3 separate regions of the Homo sapiens genome follow, and all the other regions are linked to region 1. Evidence: promoter capture Hi-C in human tissues and cell types (Jung and others, 2019). All regions are on one chromosome and are shown on one strand. Each heading gives the region's core, a stretch centred on a gene start or on the middle of the fragment in contact. The rest is flanking DNA. Distances are from core to core; before and after follow the strand shown.

Region 1 (4,623 bases), core at 2,124-4,623:
TGGGAAACCACTGGCAACATGGACCCCTTATCTGGATACAGTGGCAGAAAAGAAAGCTCTGCAAGAAGTTCCCGTAAAGCATGTCCTTGCCCTTAGTGCCCATTTCCTCCTCTGTCAAATGAGGCAAATACTTCCAGCCCTGATGAGATAATGGCCTCATCAGCAGGGCAACTCTGACGGTGTGGGTGAGGCTGTTCTAGGTTTCGCGCTGCCAGGCAGCGCCTCTCTCCTAGCCTCCGTTTTCTCATCTGCCAAGTGGGGCAGTAAGCCCTGCCCTGGTGACTCCATTGCCAAGGAGAGGGGAGGCGTGAGCGGACTTATGGATTGGGGTAGAGTTGGGTGCCAGGGGGCTGAGAACACATGTGAGGGACCTGAATCTTGCCATATTAACTAAGGGCGATGGTTTCTGTAGTACCGTTTCTGCTATCCAACAAGGCCTTGTAAACAAATATAACGTCTGGGCCCACCCAGGAGGAGCTGGTGAGTGCCTGAGGAGTAGATGGCCAGTGGGGATGGGTGAAGAACACATAGAATAGTGACATCTGATATGGCGCCCCTTGAACACACAGGCAAAGGAAGAGATGGGGCATTTTGAGTCACATGGATTGGGGTAGGACTGTTTCCCCCCAAAAAGGCTTTTTGAGTTATGTTGTAAAGATGTCAGAGGGAGACTCACATTTAAGACTGAAGCTCTCCTTCCTTCACACCCTTGCCAGGACTCCCTCTGACCACCCCAATCCCTGCCCCCCTCCGTTTGTGGTCCCTCTGCCCATTGCCATGAGGAGAGTGTCCAATCCAATATCAGTCAGTTCCACAAATGTTTACTGAGCCCTTTGGAAAATAAAACACAACTCCAAATATTAAATTTACTTAGCACTCTGCAGTTTACAGAGCACTTCCAAATGCATTCTGTGGTCACTACAATAACCCTGAAAGGAAAAAAAGATGATTATCTCTCACTCCACAAAAAAGAAACTGAGGGTCAGAGAAGAGAGACAACTTGCTCAAGGCCATTTGATTGGAGGTTGCCTGACTCCTGGAGCTGCTCTTCCCCGTCTCCTTGCTGCCTTGCTGTCATGTCACCTGCTGTCTCACTGGGTCATTTGGGCGTGTGCCCCTCGCACGCCTGTATCTTCCCAACTGGTGTCAGCTCGAAACCCTCTGTGGTCTGCAGTGCTCAGCCTGGCTTTCCAGGTCTGGGCAGCTCCCTCCTTCCAGATCCTGCCTGTGATTCCAGCTCCTTTCCCTTGCTGTACAAAGTTCCCACCTCTGCACTTTGCCTCACTCTTTCTTCCTGCCCACTGGTACGTATCCCAGTCCTTCCCACACTTCAGGTCTCCCTCGGCTGCACAGGAGGCTCAAATCCAGCATAGATTCCTGAAGTCCTGGGTCCAAGTTCTAGCTCTGCTACTGACTTCTTGTGACTGTGTGACCTTGGGCAGGTCACTTTCCCTCTCTGGGCCTCCATTTCATCACTATGAAATAGGAGTGTTGAACACAATACTCTAAATGCATCTCCATGTGGTCTAAGTACCCCCCTCCCCGGCCCCTCCCTGCCCTTCCCCCTCCTCTGATCATCCTGTGTGCTCACCATCCACAATCCCCTCTCCTGGCTCCACATCATTCTCCAAAGGGTTCATGTTCAATCATTCAGTTAGACTTTAAACTCCCTAAGAGCAGAGGAGGGTGATTTTGGCCAAGATATGCAGATCGATTCATCAGTAATCCACTGACCACCTCCATTTAGGTTGGGAGCCTCTTTATCTTCCCTCTTTAGTTTCTTCAAGGTGCACACACAGATACCTACAGCAGGCAGGAATCCAGGTGGGGCACCAGGCATCTCTGCTCACCTTGGCTGCTGGTGGTGGGGTGCCTGCCTGTGCTGTGCATGCTGCAGCTTTGGCAGGGTGGCCAATCAGTCCAGTGCCAGCCTTTGCCTCCCAGAGAATGCTTCACACCCTATTCTTCCCCCAAACCCATCACTGGCCCAGACATCAAAAGCACACATCCCTGTGCTATTCCCCTTCAAAGAGCTTCATATCTAATATCTCACTGAGTCCCCCGACTAGCCTTGGAAAGGCAAAGCAGGGATTATTAATCTCCATTTTGTAGATGGTGAGGGTCTTGTCCAAGGCTACTCTGAATTCAGCATAGAGCTGGGACTGGGCTCCACTCTTGTGTCCAGTCATTCTTGTCAAACTCTGGTCTGTGGAATATACATGCCTGCCTCTGTGTAGGCCCCAGTCTCTTTCCCTTTAAGAACTTGGGTCTGAGAGGACAAGCGCATGTCGCACGCACACACACACGCACATGCATACACACCCTTACAAGATGCACAGCCACCAAAAAGCCTAATAAAGCAAGGTGCCCAAGACCACGGTTCAGGATCCGTAAAAATGGCCGGAGATAATTGACTGCAACCTATTCACTGCAAATGGGGCAACTTGGGCCCACAAAGGGCCAGAGACTTGACCCGAGTCACAGAGTAGACTAGAGCCCAGGTCTCTGGACTCCCAGTCCTGTGCTCTCTCCACTGTGTGTGCCCTCAGCAAACAAGGCAAGGCAGGGAGGAGCAGGAGCTCAGAGAGCCTGGGGCTGAAGGGTGGGAGGAAAGAGCCTGGTGGGGGACTTCGGTCCACAGGTGTGGATGTTCCAACCTTTCTCTGGCAGGGTCGGGGTGGGGGCACCAGGTAGCTGCAACCTGTTCCTTCAGCACCTGGGAGGAGACACAGAGTCTGGTTCCCTGAAGCCAAATGTTTCTTCTTTGTCCTCTGTGTCCCTTCATCTCTTATAGCTGTGTCCACTGAGTGGCAGAGGTCCAGGCCCAGCGCCTTCCAGTCTAGGAGCCTGTGACCTGGGACAGGATCCCTGGGGAAAGGGTGAGGGCTGGCAAAGGGCCCGCCACCCTGAGCACTCCAAGAGACAGGGGTGGAACTCACTTCAAGGATTCAGGGCGGCGAGGATCCTCTCCCACCGGCGAAGCGGACACCGCGGTGGGGCTGCGAGTACCCAGTTGTTGTTTTTTTCTCCTTCCCTGTTCTCCACCCCATGCACTTTTCCGAGGGGCAAGCTCCGCAGTTCTCCCATCAAGGAGGCTCTCCAGGCTCCCTGCCGGCCTTCGGCTCCTGGGGTGGAGGTGGGCGTGGGGTACATGGGCCCTAGGAGAATGGGGTGTGAGAGACTCCCCTGGGCTTATGGCTTTGGTGGCACCTCAGGCTGTGGAATGGGGTGGCGAGTCTTTGGAAGTCACAGAGCCCAGGGTCGGTGGCACGTGATGAGGCGCAGGCCTGGCTCAGGGGGTGGTGCCCACGGCCCTCGGCTCCTCCCCCGGGGCCGCCCCGCCCCGCGCGGGAGGGGACGGGCGGGGACCGGCATGGGTAGGCGCGGCGACCCGCAGGGCCAGGTGCAGGGCCCGCGAGTCCGGGGTCGCCGCAGCCCGGGAGGAGTGTCTGGTCTCCGGCCTGCCTGTGCTGTCCCCGCGCCCTGTCCACTGGACTCCCGAGACCCTTGGAACCCAGGTAACCCGGGGCGGGACTCCCCGCCGCGCGCCGCCTCCCCACCTCCCGGTCCACGCGCACCCGCCCTCCGCGGCAGCCCCAGCCGCCCTGCGCCCGTGGAGCCCGTTGAGCCTGGGTGGCCGCTCCGAGGGCGGGTCTGGGAAAGTTTGTGCCGGGGCGGCCCTGATCCGGCGGCGGCGCGGCTCGGCCACTTTCACCGCACGCGGGGCCGGTGTGAAGGTGGGGCGGCCGCCGCCGTGCAGAAGGCTCTCTGCTGCAATCGAGGGCGGTGAGGGGAGCTGTTGCCTTCTCGCACCTTTTCTCTCACTCTCCAGGGCGTTTGCGCCGCTTATCCTTCCTCCACCGCCCCCCTCCCGCCGCCCCCACTTTAATAAAACCCTTGGATTGGGGCTGCACAGTTGGCGATTTCTTTACACCTGTGCTTCCCGCCTCCTGAGCCCAGATGTGAGCCTGGGCTGAGCAGGACCGTGTGGGTGAGGGGCGGCCCACTGCCTGCGGGGGTCGTCCCGGCCCTGTTGAAGTGGGTGCCCAGCTACAGGGAGTTCCCCCTGCTCTGTCATTGGCCTCCCCCCGGCCACAGCCCCCAGCTGGGCATCTCCTGGCTCCCCTAGCACTTCCCAAGTCCTAGTCGGATGAGCCCAGGAGAGGGGGTGGACCCCGGCCCAGCAGAACAAGAACTCAGGAGCCCGGTAACTCTTATCCGTGAGCAGAACCGGCTTCCTCCCGCTTAGGTTGGGAGGAGGGCTCAGCTTAGTGGGAGTCGGGGGTGACAACTGCCCCTTCCCACGCAGAGCCATAGAGAAGAGATGGGGAGAGGTCAGGGGATCTGAGAAGAGCTAGCAGCCAAAAAGGGACACATCCCTGATTTCATTTGAACCTAACAAACCAATGGCGAGTAGATATTAACACATGGGCAGATGAGAAGACAAGGAGGCCCAACAAAGCTCAGCCATTTGCTGGAGAAACTGGTGGGCTTTTCTCCACCACTGAGTGGCGGGTTTCCCACCGCATCCTTCCAGAGCTGCATGGTCGCTTCTGCATTCTTGCAGTGCCCTTGACTCAGCAGAGGTTTGTTTCTTTTACCCCACTCCCCACCCCCCTAGGT
Region 2 (4,623 bases), core at 705-3,204, 300 kb before region 1:
TTATAGGGTGAATACCCAGTTTGTTTTGTGGGGGTACACCTGACTCCGAGGAGGACCACTGGCAAGACCTGATCCCATCGCGGAAGAGTCTCCAGACAAAATTTCTTCAGCAGCTGCTTGAGTGTCTGGTTCATGCGCTCCACTTTTCCTGAGCTCTGCAGCCGGTAGGCTGTGTGTAGCTTCTGTTTTATTTTTAATAGTTGAGTTAAGTCTTGAACTATTTCAGCTACAAATGCTGGTCCACTGTCTGACCCCAGAGTCAGGAGTAGTCCAAATCTAAGAATAATGTCTTTTAACAACACCTTAGTCACTTCTTGTGCTTTCTGTGTTCTGGTGGGGAAAACCTCAACCCATCCTGAAAAGGTGCAAATGAACACCTACATGTACTGATAGCCCCCTGCCCAGGGCCTGAGTTAAGGCTTCTTTGATTTCTTTAAAGGCCTTCTCCTGGTTGGCCTCCAAGAGGAGGGGTTCCTTCTCTCCCCACTTTGTGGCTTCATATAATGGCTTAGCCATGAGCGAGAAATTTGGGAGGCAGATATGGCAGAACCCTGCTGCCCCTAGGAATTCTCTTATTTGTCACCAGGTGATTGGAGTGGAAAGTGTCCAAACAGCCTGCTTTTGTTCACTACCAAGCCATCTTTCCCCTTCGCTTATATAGAAGCCTAAATACTGGACACTTTCAAAGCAAATTTGAGCCTTTTCCCTGACATTTTATATCCTTCCTTCCACAGCAGGTGCAGGAGGTCTTGGGTTCCTTGGAAGCAGTCCTCTCGTGTTGGGGCTGCTAGAAGAAGGTCATCTATGTAGTGAAGCAAGACACAGTCACTATTTGGTGCAGTGTAGGCTTTAAGGTCTGAGGCCAGTGCCTCTTCAAAGATTGTAGGAGAGTTTTTAAATTCCTGTGGGAGTCTTGTCCAAATGTACTGTGATTCACCTCATTGAAAAGCAAAAATAGGCTGACTAATCGGTGCCAGCCAGAGACAGAAAAATGCATCTTTTAAGTCTAGGACTGTAAACCAGGCAGCACTTGCCAGAATATGTCCCATTAAAGAATACAGGTTTGGCACCACTGGGTGCATGGTCACTTTGGCCTGGTTTACAGCATGCAAGTCCTGCACTGGCCTATATTCTCCAGACGCCTTCTGCACTGGCAAGAGAGGGGTGTTCCAGGATCACTCACATTTGACTATGATTCCATGCTTATGAAGCCACTCTAAGTGCTTGTGGACACCCCGTATGGCATCGGGGAGTAGTGGGTATTGGTGAACCTGAACTGGAGTTGCTCCCGGTTTTAACTCTACCACAACTGGTGCCTGATTTACAGCCAGTCCAAGTGGATTACTTTCAGCCCAAACTCCAGGAATTTTAGTAAGCACCCCATGCATTTCATTTACCCCTGGTTCCAGAGTCTTTTTGCATATAGCCTCCATTCCTCAGCCTGTGGGACAGTAAGGGTTAATACCATAGTCTCCAGGTGAGCTAGGTTTAAAGTTACATTCCCTTGTGGCCCATATGTAATCTGTGCTTGCAGTTTTTGGAGGAGGTCTCTTTCTAGCAAGAGAACTGGGCAGTTTGGGAGGTATAGGAAGTCATGCTAAACTTCTTCTCCTACTATCATGCACATCCTTGACTGACAGAAAGGCCCTTTCTCTGAGACTCTGGTGGCTCCTACAGTAGTTGCACAGTTCTTGGATAGTGGCCCTATAGGTCAGGTTACTACTGAGTGTTCAGCCTCGGTGTCTACCATAAAGTCCATCAGCTGGCCTCCAACTTCTAATGTGACCATGGGCTCCTGGAGGCCCAATGAGAAGGAGCCCAGTCTGTCCTAGTCCTCATATCCTTCAGCCCCTGCCAACCCAATCAGGTCAGTGTCGGGTTTCTCCTGGGTGCGGTAGCCCTCGGCTGGTGGCTTTCCCATACCACGGCCCTGGCCATTCTCTTTATTATTATTCTCTGGACATTCATCCTTCCAGTGCCCTTTCCTTTTGTACCATGGACATTAATCTCTCTCTAGCCTCGGCCAGCTCTCAGATCTTTTTCCATGCCTGTATAAATATAGGAATGAAATTATACCATGACACTTGGGGTGCAGTTGATGTAGTGTTTCTAGGATGTCTAAGTTCCACTGAATGGGGACGAGAAATGGGATCCTTTCCACCATTAAAAAAGAATGTGTTGGTGCTGAGTAAGCTGATACAGAATGATCCTCAGAGTAGGCGGTGAAAGGCTAAGGGCAACACAGTGTACTCCTGTGTGTGTGTGTGTGTGTGTGTGTGTGTGTTTAGGCAGCTTTATAATTGTACATATCATGTATCTGTACATAAAAAAAAAACAAACCCTGCTAATGGTGTTACCTCTGCAAAGCGAGACCAGGGCCTGAAGAGGGAGGGAGACCCTCTTTTCCTTGTTTACTCTCTCACTGTTTCAGTTTTCACTATGTGCGTGACTTATTTTTATTAAAAGAAGATTAAATCCTGTTTGGACCCTCTTTAAGCAAGACTGACCAGAAGTCTTGTATCATCATATCCTTGAATTCTCCTGGGTTTGTCAAAGGCCCCCCCTAGGGACTTAGCCATCTGGAAAGGGGGTCTTGCAGCTTCTGGTCGCCATGACAGCTGTTGCTCCTAGTGATCGCAAGATGCAGGCCTAGGCTTCCCAGCTCTGTATGCAGCATCCCACCACCAACCTGGGTCCCAAATGTTGAGATAATGTCTCTCGCAGTGCCAGTGTGTTGGTGTCACACTACGGTGTTACTTTAGGAAGAAAATACGTTCAGCACTCTGTGCTATACACTTAGGAAAAACAAATGTTCTTTACCTAAAAACATCTTCACCCTCTACCTTGCAGTACTGCCTTTATTCTCATTTCCCTCTGGGATAATCTGGCTTAACTGCCTCCAGTGGTCTCTAAACACAGTCTTGTTTAGAGGTTGTCTTCAGGGCTGGCCATTCTCACACCAGGGCCCCTCCATGCCTACTCAGCTTCCTCTCTCAGACCCAGAAACAGAAAGAATTGTCTATTGCTCCTTAGGGGGTTGGAGAATCCTTGTTGCCTCTAGGAAGAAAATCATGCCACCCTCCAATAGGTGAAGCTCTGGATAGCTTTTTTTCTTTCCTTGTGAGCCGACAGCAGCAATAAATGACATAAATTAATTTCTCAGTGAGTTATTACTATACATTACATTTTCAATGAGTTCCTCTTCTTCAATTCAGGTATATCCTGATAGAGTAAAAGTACAGTAGGCTGGGCATGGTGGCTCACGCCTGTAATCCCGGCACTTTGGGAAGCCGAGGCGGGTGAATCACCTGAGGTCAGGAGTTCAAGACCAGCCTGACCAACATGGTGAAACCCCGTCTTTACTAATAATACAAAAATTAGCTGGGTGTGGTGGCACATGCTTGTAAGCCCAGCTACTCGGGAGGCTGAGGCAGGAGAATCACTTAAACCCAGGAGGCGGAGGTTGCAGTGGGCCGAGATTGTGCCACTGCATTCTAGCCTGGGCAACAGAGTGAGACTTTGTCTCAAAAAAAAAAAAAAAAAAGAGTAAAAGTACAGTGTAGTGAGAACTAGAGGAGAGAACTAAATTAGCTCTCTTGGGGAGGAGTGGACTGGAAAAGGGAACACTTGTGCTTGTGGTGGTACCTGAAGGTTGAGTAGGAATTCACCAGGTGAAGAAATGAGGAGAGCTATCAAAACTTGGTGCTAAATCCAAGGACCTGACTCTATCCAGAGATTGCCCAAACTATACCAAGCTACAGCGGCCCCAATTCCTCTGCATCTCTAGGATTTAAAGAGTAGGTCCAGGTGAACTCAGAGTCTTTAGTGAGAGGATGCTCTTTTGGCAGCTGTCTGGGACTTGAGTGGTCAAGATGGAGGCTGTAATACGCCAGTGTGGACGGAATCACCAGATGCCCCATGCTTCTCCTGTGGAGCCAGTGTTCTGGGAACAGGCTGGGACTGCTGCTCTAAAGGAAGGCCTTGTCATTCATGCTGTGATTCCTGTGGGTGCCAATAATATGATTAGAGGAAGGAAAGGGAAGGAAGCAGAGGAAAAAGCAAAGAAAGGCAAGGCAAGTTGGGGAAAGGCGGGGAAAGGGAAGTCAGTTCTGCTTTGGTGAGGATCACAGGCCTTGGCTCACAGTGGGGACCAGAGACAGACGTGGAGGCTTACATTTCCTTCCTCTGAGATTCCCAAGGCCTGATAGTTCTTGGCATCTCTTAAAAACAAAAAGTAATCATATTTTTACTTCTTCCAGTACAAAGTCTGGATTTATAGCTACTCATCTTACGCCAAGGACTGATTCTTAGGAAGTTGGATTCAGACATAAGTTTACAGAGTTCCTGGGTCACCCAAGATTCTTTCCCCACCAAAGCCACAAAGCACTCCACCCTGCCTTTTTCCTCCTTATATTTCAGGTGCAGAGCTGAGCCTTGCATTCTTCAGTTACCTCCTCCGGTGGAGGGCAGTGGGAAGCACCTCCATTTCTCCATCTAGAAATGAAAGCTACCACCAGATCTTTTGCAGAAGAATATCTGCACACACATGTTTTGGAGGGTCAGTTAAAATTTTACCCACATGACTGAAAATGAATTTTAAGTGTTCAGAAGCCAATGGAATAA
Region 3 (4,623 bases), core at 1,131-3,630, 270 kb before region 1:
TGCCATCTTAACCATTTTTAAGTGTACAGGTCAGTGGCATTAATTAAGTACATTCACATTGCTGTGCCACCATCACCACCCTCCATCTCCAGAACCTTTTCATCCTTCCATTGAAACTCCTTGCCCACTGAACACTGAATCCCCATGCCTCCTCCCCTAGTCCCTGGCAACCACCATTCTATTCATACATTCTGTCTCTAAGAATCTGACTTCTCTAGGCACCTCATCTAAGTGGGATTATACAATATTTGTCATTTTGTATCTGGCTTATGTCACTTAGTATAGTATCCTCAAGCTTCATCTGTGTCATAGCATGTGACAGAATTTTATTCCTTTTAAGGCTGAATAATATTCCATTGTAGGTATATGCCATATTTTGTTTATCCATTCACCAATTAGTGGACATTTGGGCTGTTTCTACGTTTTAACTATCGTGATTAATGCTGCTATGAACATTGGTGCACAGATATCTGTTTGAGTTCCTGCTTTCAATTCTTCCGGGTATATATCCAGAAGGGGAATTGCTGGATGACATGGTAATTCTGGTAATTCTATTTTTAATTTTTTGAGGAACTGCCATACTGTTTTCCACAGTGGCTGCATTATTTTACATTCCTACCAGTAATGTACAGGTGGTCCAAGTTCTCCACATTCTTGCTAACACTTGTAATTTTCTGCTTTTTTTTTTTTTTCTGAGATGGAGTCTCACTCTGTTGCCCAGACTGGAGAGCAGTGGCATGATCTCAGCTCATTGCAGCCTCCACCTCCCAGGTTCAAGTGATTCTCCAGCCTCAGTCTCCCGAGTAGCTGGGACTACAGGCACCTACCACCATGCCCACTAATTTTTGTATTTTTCATAGAGATAGGGTTTCACCATGTTGGCCAGGCTCGTCTCGAACTCCTGGCCTCAAGTGATCCACCCGCCTTGGCCTCCCAAAGTGCTGGGATTACAGGCGTGAGCCACTGTGCTCAGCCTTATATTCTGCTTTTTGATAATAGCCATCCTAATGGGTGTGAAGTGGTAACTCACTGTACTTATAGTGTCATTTTTAGTGGCTGCATTATACTCCACTGTATGTATCATGCAGCATCGTGTAGTATTTAAGACTCTAAGCACAAGCTACCTAAGTTCAAATCTCAGTTCCATCACTTATTATATGATCTTAGACTAGTTACTTAACTTCTCTGTACCTCAATTTATTTATCAAATAGGAATTATGATAATAATATTTCATACTCATGGGGTTGAGATGAAGGTTAAATTAGTTAACTTACGCGCGACGGGGAGCCATCAAAGTGTGTTGAGCAAGGGATTCGCAGGGATGGACCTGCATTCTGAAAAGCTTTTCTTCAGCAATGTTCATTTTGCTGCCCTGGTGCCAGAGGGCGGAAAACAGGTAGCTGGCTTCACCCAGGGATGGGATATTCTTAGAGTCAGTAGAATGGAAGGTTAGAGGGAGAAGGAAGGAGAATGTGCACATGAGAATTATTGTGAGGGAGGACCCTGGATTTGAAATTGGCCAACAGAGAGATTAAAGCAGATAGAAGAGGCCATGAAGGGGCCAGGGGGAGACTGGTCCTCTGGATGAGTCCAGAAACCTGCTGTCATCTTGGCTGTTGACTAGGAAAGCAGAACAGGCGGTGTGACTGGAGAGTGGTATAATATACTCTAATTGATTCTGCATCGTAATGTGATTTGGGCCGGAATGATGATCACAACACCAATGAGAATTTCCATGTATATGCAATTTCCTTCTCCCAGATACTGCGTTAGGTGTTTTACCATTATCGAGTTTCCTTGAGCTAGTTCTGAGAGGGAGAAATGATTACTCTCATTTTAGAGATGAGCAAAGTGAGGTCCACTACCCCAGAGGACTTAGAGCCCACTATTGCACAGTTAAGGAGGGGCAGGAGCAGGATGCCACACTGGGTGTGTCCATATCCAAAGCAGGCCAAGAAATCATTAATCACGGGCTCTGCTGCTCAGGAAGAATAAAATACAGAAAAATCTCATCTCTGTTGGTAGTTTTGGCTTCCTTATCCCATCACTTTCAACCACCCATGTTTACATAAGGCCACACTGCTGGGCTGGAATGCCTAGCTGTGGCCCCTCTCAAGACAACATGATAAACAGAGCATTTGCTCCAAGTTGAACAACAAGGCACACTCCCTCAGCGCTAACCCACATACAGTGTGCCTTTGGATAACTGAGGCTGTGGGCACACCGCCCCTTATAGATTAAGTAAGCAGGTGTATTTTCTGGGCAGATAGTCTTGGAAGTTGAGTAGTACTTAGGGAGTTACCGATTCTGGAGACAGGCAACCACTGAAGCCAAAGATTCTCCACCCGTGGGGAGGTGTCCATTGCTGTTGAGCTAGGCAGTCGGGAACATGGAAGGTTTCTGAGCTGAGGGTGACATTTGGTCCTTCAGTTGCATGGTCTATACCCCCAAGGAAAGCTGACTGGCAGAAAGCTGGAGGTGGGTAAACAGAAGAGGCCCACCACTTCTTGCAGTGTGTGCACGGCAGGGGGCGTCTGCAGGTACAGAGTGGGGTGCTGGGGCAGGCCCGCACTGGGCTTCATCCCCACTCGGGACAGGCAGTGGCTCCATTGACCCGGATGAGCTGCGCACTGTGCTGCAGTCGTGTCTGCGCGAGAGCGCCATCTCGCTGCCTGACGAGAAGCTGGACCAGCTGACGCTGGCGCTCTTCGAATCGGCCGACGCGGACGGCAACGGGGCCATCACCTTCGAGGAGCTCCGGGACGAGCTGCAGCGCTTCCCCGGAGTCATGGAGAACCTGACCATCAGGTACGGCCGGGTCTCGGGCATTGGCACTGTCCACGGCGGCGTTAGACTCCTGGTCGGAAGTGTGGCAGGAACTCACCGCGGATCCACTCTGCCCTACCCCGCCCTGCCCCGCCCCTCCCCAGTTTAGCCCACTCTTGAGTGTACTGCAGGGCAGCTGTCTTCATTGCCTCCACTTCCTGCAGTGTCTCTGCAGAATCAACTCAAGGTCTGAGGCACCTACTGTGTGCTGAGCACTTTTGCATATACCAGTGCATTTTATAGCAATACTCGTTTTACAAAAGGAAATTACTTCGCCTGAAGTAAGTTGCCTAGGATCACACAAATAATTAACAAAGGTATTTATGCAATAAATGTTTGAGCAGCTTCTATGCAGCAGGCACTGTTCTGATTAATGCAGTGAATGAGGTCTCCACCCTGCTGGGGCTCCATTCCAGACGAAGAGACATGTCATTTACACCAATAAACACACAAACTAGAGAAGCACAAAATTAATAAGTGCTGTGGAGAAAATAAGAGTGTAACAGCAAGACCCAAGTCTGTCCGACTCCAGGCTCTGAATAGAGCCGGTTTTGTAGTTCATTCTTCCTGTGTATTAACTTTTTTTTTTTTTTTTTCTGAGACGGAGTCTCACTCTGTCGCCCAGGCTGGGGTGCAGTGGTATGATCTCGGCTCACCGCAACCTCCGCCTCCCGGGTTCAAGCGATTCTCCTGACTCATCCTCCCGAGTAGCTGGTATTATAGGTGCCAGCCACCACGCCCAGCTAGTTTTTGTATTTTTAGTAGAGACGGGGTTTCGCCATCTTGGCCAGGCTGGTCTCGAACTCCTGACCTCAGGTGATCCGCCCGCCTTGGGTTCACAAAGTGTTGGGATTACAGACGTGAGCCACTGCACTGGGCACCTACCTGCCTATTAACTTTCTTGGGGCTTACTTACCAAAACATATTTCAGATTCTTCCATCCTTTTCGACTGCTTCTTTTAAAATTGGAAAGTAAAGAGAAGTAATAAAAATAGCGGTGGTTGTGGCATTAGGCAGACCGGAGTCCCCTTTCAGCTCCGCGGAGCTGTGCGACTGTGACCAAGCCACTTGACCTCTCTGTTTCCTGGTGTGAAGAAAGCCGGCCTGCTTGCCAGACTTGGTCGGCCATAGCTTGAAGGGGGTCTTTAAGTTAAGACACAGGTGGTCCCCGCCCCACCGCTCGCCTCTGAGCGGAACCCGCCTCTCTCGCAGCGCTGCCCACTGGCTGACGGCCCCCGCCCCCCGCCCACGCCCGCGCCGGCCGCGCCAGCTGACCCGCGCCTACTGGCACAACCACCGCAGCCAGCTGTTCTGCCTGGCCACCTATGCAGGCCTCCACGTGCTGCTCTTCGGGCTGGCGGCCAGCGCGCACCGGGACCTCGGCGCCAGCGTCATGGTGGCCAAGGGCTGCGGCCAGTGCCTCAACTTCGACTGCAGCTTCATCGCGGTAGGCTCTGCCAGCACACGGTGCTCTGAAAATGTTAATTAGGAGCCGAGGTGGGCTCCTCCTAGACAGAGCGACCCACAGAGGACACCTGGAATGCCAGGGCAGGGTGGCACCTTAGAAATCAGCTGGGCCAACGCTCAGAGTTGGAGGACGCCGCCCAGAGAGGGACAGTAGCTTGTCCACAGTCACACAGCCAGTAAATAATAACATAACTGGCATTTTTGTGCACTATGCACCAGGCACGGTGCTGAGCACGCTCCATTTGATCTTCACAACTCCCCTATAGTGGACCCCTGTGCAGGAGCACCTTCAAGAGGAAACCCTAGAAGAGGCTTTGAATACCAGACCA

The links. The method cuts DNA at HindIII sites, captures the fragments that hold promoters and counts their contacts. A contact is called where the count stands out against the background at its distance.
Region 2: a contact is called between a fragment that was not itself captured here and the fragment with the promoter of PAQR5 in region 1, in 2 of the 25 tissues and cell types used here (liver and spleen).
Region 3: a contact is called between a fragment that was not itself captured here and the fragment with the promoter of PAQR5 in region 1, in 1 of the 25 tissues and cell types used here (IMR-90 fibroblasts).

Annotation. Positions count from the first base shown.
Region 1 is chr15:69,295,539-69,300,161 of GRCh38, forward strand. PAQR5 (progestin and adipoQ receptor family member 5) reads left to right here and starts at 3,374. Exons shown (of 9, transcript NM_017705.4): 1 at 3,374-3,518. PAQR5-DT (PAQR5 divergent transcript) reads right to left here and starts at 3,225. Exons shown (of 3, transcript NR_184010.1): 1 at 2,940-3,225. The HindIII fragment of the contact is 6,076 bases long and covers 1-4,623 here.
Region 2 is chr15:68,993,321-68,997,943 of GRCh38, forward strand. All of the region lies in intron 2 of SPESP1-NOX5 (SPESP1-NOX5 readthrough), which reads left to right. Among named protein-coding and RNA genes, the nearest start is that of NOX5, 19 kb to the right of the region's middle. The HindIII fragment of the contact is 6,685 bases long and covers 1-4,623 here.
Region 3 is chr15:69,029,004-69,033,626 of GRCh38, forward strand. It overlaps SPESP1-NOX5 (SPESP1-NOX5 readthrough), which reads left to right. Exons shown (of 17, transcript NR_033672.2): 5 at 2,599-2,809; 6 at 4,040-4,274. NOX5 (NADPH oxidase 5) reads left to right here. Exons shown (of 16, transcript NM_024505.4): 4 at 2,515-2,809; 5 at 4,040-4,274. Among named protein-coding and RNA genes, the nearest start is that of NOX5, 17 kb to the left of the region's middle. The HindIII fragment of the contact is 3,122 bases long and covers 820-3,941 here.